Regions from separate parts of the Homo sapiens genome. Here region 1 is linked to region 2. Evidence: promoter capture Hi-C in human tissues and cell types (Jung and others, 2019). All regions are on one chromosome and are shown on one strand. The core of a region is centred on a gene start or on the middle of the fragment in contact, and the rest is flanking DNA. Distances in the headings are between cores, read along the strand shown.

What was found. The method cuts DNA at HindIII sites, captures the fragments that hold promoters and counts their contacts. A contact is called where the count stands out against the background at its distance.
Region 1: the fragment with the promoter of NDUFB10 here is called in contact with a fragment that was not itself captured in region 2 in 1 of the 25 tissues and cell types used here (dorsolateral prefrontal cortex).

The regions. Positions count from the first base shown.
Region 1 is chr16:1,958,240-1,960,787 of GRCh38, reverse strand. NDUFB10 (NADH:ubiquinone oxidoreductase subunit B10) reads right to left here and starts at 1,250. Exons shown (of 4, transcript NM_004548.3): 1 at 1,034-1,250. The coding sequence starts at 1,163. RefSeq lists silencers at 621-730, 1,161-1,470 and an enhancer at 2,193-2,548. The HindIII fragment of the contact is 2,906 bases long and covers 1-2,283 here.
Region 2 is chr16:1,683,542-1,686,241 of GRCh38, reverse strand. It overlaps JPT2 (Jupiter microtubule associated homolog 2), which reads right to left. Exons shown (of 5, transcript NM_144570.3): 2 at 655-803. Among named protein-coding and RNA genes, the nearest start is that of JPT2, 6.6 kb to the right of the region's middle. The HindIII fragment of the contact is 5,684 bases long and covers 1-2,700 here.

The DNA.
Region 1 (2,548 bases), core at 1-2,500, 270 kb before region 2:
GGCTCCAACAGGGAGCCTCCAGCAAGCAGAACTTACCACCTTACGGCCTCAGCTTCCTCACTGGGAAATGAACGAGCTAAAAGGAGAGCTCGAACATCCAGACACATAGGACAGACATGCTCTACAACTGCTACAAAAGAGAGGGAGCTGGGTCCGCTGTTGCACGGTTTCCAGATCTTTGGGGGTTTGATTTGGAGACTTCACCCTCTTACGGAAGAACCACCAGAGCATGCTATGCACCCCAAGTGTTCAAAAAGAACTGAACCAGGCTGGACACGGTGGCTCAGGCCTGTAATCCCAGCACCTGGGGGCCAAGGTGGGAGGATCACCTGAGGTCAGGAGTTCGAGACCAGCCTGGCCAACATGGTGAAACCCCGTGTCTACTAAAAATATAAAAATTAGCTGGGCGTGGTGGTGGTGCGCCTGTAATCCTAGTACTGGGGAGGCTGAGGCAGGAGAATCGCTTGAACCCGGGGTGGGGCAGAGGTTGCAGTGAGCCGAGATCGCGCCACTGCACTCCAGCCTGGGCAACAGAGTGAGACTGTCTCAGGAAAAAAAAAAACAACAAAAACTGAACTGGGCATTTTCCCGGTTCGTTCCAGAGATGCTGAATTTGGGCATCTCGGCCATCACCCCGACACTTGGTCATCCGGCAGAGAGACATTTGAGAGAGGCCTGAGGCCAGCGGTGCAGTGGAGGGGTGCCCGGGGCGGCGGGGGGCGGAGAGCAGTGCGGGGTCCTGGGGCAGTGGGCGCTGGGTGCGGCAGGGAGGGAAGAGTCCTGGGAAGAAGCGGGGCATCCCGGGGTGCAGGGGAGAGTAAGGGATCCTGGGAGGTGAGGTCCGGGGTGCAGTGGGAGGCCAAAGGAGGCGACGGAGCTCGGAGGTCTCCGGGGGTGGGGAGTTGTCCCCGGGGTGCAGCGGGGGGCGGTCTCAGGCAGACGGGACCCCGGAGGCATTGGAGGATCCAGGCAGGGTGTGGGATCCAGGGGTCCCCAGAGGCCGGCGAGGGAGCCCCGGGCTGGGGCTTCGTACCTCTCACGAGGGTCACGGGTCGGTCCACGATGAGGTCGAACGCTTTCATCATGTAGACGATGGGATTGGGCTGCACCGGCGTGCGGCGCGGGGGCTCAGGGTACACATCCTTGTCCCAGCTGTCCGGCATGGCGGCGGCGGGCGCGGACTCCGCTCCCGGACGCGCTGCCCTGGCCTCTACCTCCGTCCGGGTCCCGCGGCCTAGGTCGCCCGCTACAGAGGACGCCGAGGGCGGCTGCGTCTGCGCGCTGGCGCCGCGATGCACCATGGGACTTGTAGTTCCCCGGCTCCGCCGGGCGCGGCCGGGACCCGCCTCGCCGCAGGGCGCCCCCGCGTGGGGCCTCCGTTCTCGGTCTGTGCCGAGCGCCTACGCGGTGCTGGTCGCTGGTCTGGGCGCCTGGGAAGCAGCCGCGAACCGGACAGATTCCTGCTTACGATGAAAGAAACAGACAAAAGGCAACTGACATAAGGAATAGGAGGGGGTCATTCGGTTCCCACTGCGCGCCAGGCACTGTGCTGAGTGCAGCAGGGAATAAGATAAACTGTGATGGAGAACACAGGCCGTTAGAGCGCACACGACAAAGTGAACAAATAGCACGCGATTCCAAACACCCTACTCCTCCAGGAAGCTTTCCTGGATTGCCTAGTCCCTACAGACTTCTCTGGGCCCCGCTCTCTACAAGGGCCCCTCATGGACTGGCTGGTGCCAGTTAACTTGGGAGCCTGTCTGGGGGAGGGCAGGGAGCAGACCAGGAGGCAGGGCTTGCCCTTAGGCGGCTCATAGGGAGAAGGCACCTACCCTGGGCACAGGGCCCTCTGGCCGGCTTTGATGGTTCCATCCTGGCCCTGGGGCACTCTGGTGCTTCTAGGCAGCTCCACTGAGCAGGGTCCTGCTGGCCACATCTTCAGTCTCCACACCTGGCACGGCCCCTGGCTGCTATCCAGGGGGGACACTGGTCATGTCCTGTCCTGAGGTTGAGGCCAGCGACACAGAACCATCAACCCTACAGACAAACAGTGAGAGGTGACAGCGTGCTGGCAGTCCTCAGAGCCCTCGCTCGCTCTCGGCGCCTCCTCTGCCTGGGCTCCCACTTTGGCGGCACTTGAGGAGCCCCTTTCTGGGCTGGCCAAGGCCAGAGCGGGCTCCCTCAGCTTGCGGGGAGGTGTGGAGGGAGAGGCGCAGGCGGGAACCGGGGCTGCGCGCGGTGCTTTGCGGGCCAGCGCGAATTCCAGGTGGGTGTGGGCTCGGCGGGCCCCGCACTCGGAGAGCCTGGCCGGCCCTGCCGGCCCTGGGCAATGAGGGGCTTAGCACCCGGGCCAGCGGCTGCGGAGGGTGTGCTGGGTCCCCCAGCAGGCCGGCCCACCGGCGCTGCGCTCGATTTCTCTCGCCAGGCCTTAGCTGCCTCCCCGCGGGGCAGGGCTCGGGACCTACAGCCCGCCATGCCTGAGCCTCCCCCACTCCGTGGGCTCCTGTGCGGCCCGAACCTCCCCGACGAGCGCCGCCCCCTGCTCCAG
Region 2 (2,700 bases), core at 181-2,680:
GCCACCACGCCCGGCTAATTTTTTTTCTTTTTTAGTAGAGATGGGGTTTCACTGTGTTAGCCAGGATGGTCTCGATCTCCTGACCTCGTGATCTGCACACCTTGGCCTCCCAAAGTGCTGGGATTACAGGCATGAGCCACCGCGCCTGGCCAAGAAACCTTTTTCAAAGAGTCCCTCCTACTGTAACCACTAGGAGGTTGGGTAAATACTGAAGAACTATGTAGATGTGTGCTAGATCAATTCTTCCTTGTTAAGAGTTTCAATCCCACTGACGATCTGAATAAAAACACTCTCCCTCCCTAGGAAAAATGTTTAAATGCACAATAATTTGCACGCAATTTCAGGAATCTCATGGGGGTCCGTGGAACAATTGGGAGCAGCTCCCTGGCAGGAACCAGAAGCCCCCGTCCACTTTTGTGTCCTCAGTGCCTGTATTCAACCAAAGTCTCCAGAACAGATGGAGAATTCAAGACTACTCAAGTCACCTTCAAGAGAGAAAGTACAAATCAGAACGTTTTCATTTTGGAAGAACTCTGATAACAAGTGATTACCTGAACCAGACAATATGGGAAAGGATCAGTATAAAGAAACAGAAAATATTTTCAAAAGAGAATCGTGGAGGCCAAAGGATTAAGGATTTCCAAAGGCCCATACCTGGGGGATTTGTCCTCTTGGGTATGTTCTGAGGTTCTTCTGTTGGTCCAAAAATATTAGATGCCATCCTATTAGGCCTGCTGGAAGGAGTAGCTTCTTCTGGACTTCCAAAAAGATTGCTCGATTCTCCTCCTGGGGGCTTCATGGCCCTACAAGCACAGAGTACATGCCAATTACTGATGGCAGACCTGAAAGCTTGTCACTGTGCAAGGATTTTGGCACAACTAGACAGGGTAAAAGTATTTTGTTTTTTTCTTTTTGAGACAAGGTCTCATTCTGTCACCCAGGCTGGAGCGCAGTGACGTGATTTTGGCTCACTGCAACCTCTGCCTCCTGGGCTCAAGTGATCCTCCCACCTCAGCCTCCTGAGTAGCTGGGATTACAGGCACCCACCACCACAGCTGGCTAATTTTTTGTATTTTTGGTAGAGACAGGGTTTTGCCATGTTGCCAAAGTTGGTCTTGAACCCCTAAGCTCAAGTGATCTGCCCACCTTGGCGTCCCAAAGTGCTGTGATTACAGGTATGAGCCACCATACCCAGCAAAAGTATTTTCTTAACATCTACTGAGAAATCACATACCACCATTAGTTAATACTGGTATGACTAGTTTACAGACGCCAGACTACTTCTGCTGCTCTTTAGTTTCCCTTAAAAGTATTCTTTTTTTTTTTTTTTTGAGATGGAGTCTCGCTCTGTCGCCCAGGCTGGAGTGCAGTGGCACGATCTCAGCTCACTGCAACCTCTGCCTCCTGGGTTCAAGTGATTCTCCAGCCTCAGTCTCCTGAGTAGCTCAGATTACAGGTGCCTGCCACAACACCTGGCTAACTTTTGTTTGTTTTTTTTGAGACGGAGTTTTACTCTTGTTGCCCAGGCTGGAGGAATGCAATGGCGCAATCTCAGCTCACCACAACCTCCGCCTCCTGGGTTCAAGCAATTCTTCTGCCTCAGCCTCCCACGTAGCTAGGATTACAGGTATGCGCCACCACACCCAGCTAATTTTGTATTTTTAGTAGAGACGGGGTTTCGCCATGTTGGTCAGGTTGGTCTCGAACTCCTGACCTGGGGTGATCCACCTGCCTCGGCCTCCCAAAGTGCTGGGATTACAGGTGTGGGCCATCGCACCTGGCTCTTGAATCACTTTTTATTGTAAAAACTTAAACTTAAGAACTAATAAGGAATTGCCACAAAGCTCTATTTCTAGAGCACTATCTACATTAAAAACCGGTGAAACGCTGAATTCATAACAACTGGAAAAACTTTTAAATGCATTTGAGAGAGAGGCTTACTGAAATTGAGATTTAAACCAGTGAGTGGCACATGCTCTCTCACTAGTCCTAAGCAATGGGACTGTCTGTGATCCCAGACGTTTAGAAACGAAGTCAGCCCTCTGTATCCACGGGCTCTGCTTCCATGGATTCAACCAACCTCAGATCAAAATGTCAGAAATAAAAGGATGGTTGCATCTGTACTGAACATCTACAGACTTCTTTTCTGTCATTATTCCCCAGGTGATACGGTGTAACAACTATGTGCATAGTATTAGGTATTATATGTAACCTTGTAACCTAGAGATGATTTAAAAGCATATGGAGGATGTGCATAGGTTATATGCAAACATTACACCACTTTATATCAAGGACTTACACATCCTTGGATTTTGGCATCCTGGGGGTCCTGGAACCAACTCCCGCAGGATACCAAGGATGACCATACTTGAAATTACAGGGCTCAACATCACACAAAAACTATGATATGAGGTTAGATCTCACTGGAAAGCTTTGCAAACACTGACCACTCAAGGTTTGGTTAACAAAAATAACAGTTTCTCCTCAAAAGATCTAGAAAGAGCGCTGAGGGCTCCTTGTGACTGGATGTGAATGGAGTTCTCAGATCTCCTGCTATAAAGCAGGAAGGCAGAGAGTGCTTCAGTCTCCGCCTGCAGAGACCCACGGGCTGGCTACTGTACCCCAGAAACCAAGCGTGTGCTGGCCGACCTCTGAAGTGGTGCCCAGGGCCCCTGTCCACTCAGGAGGCTGGGGGAGGTG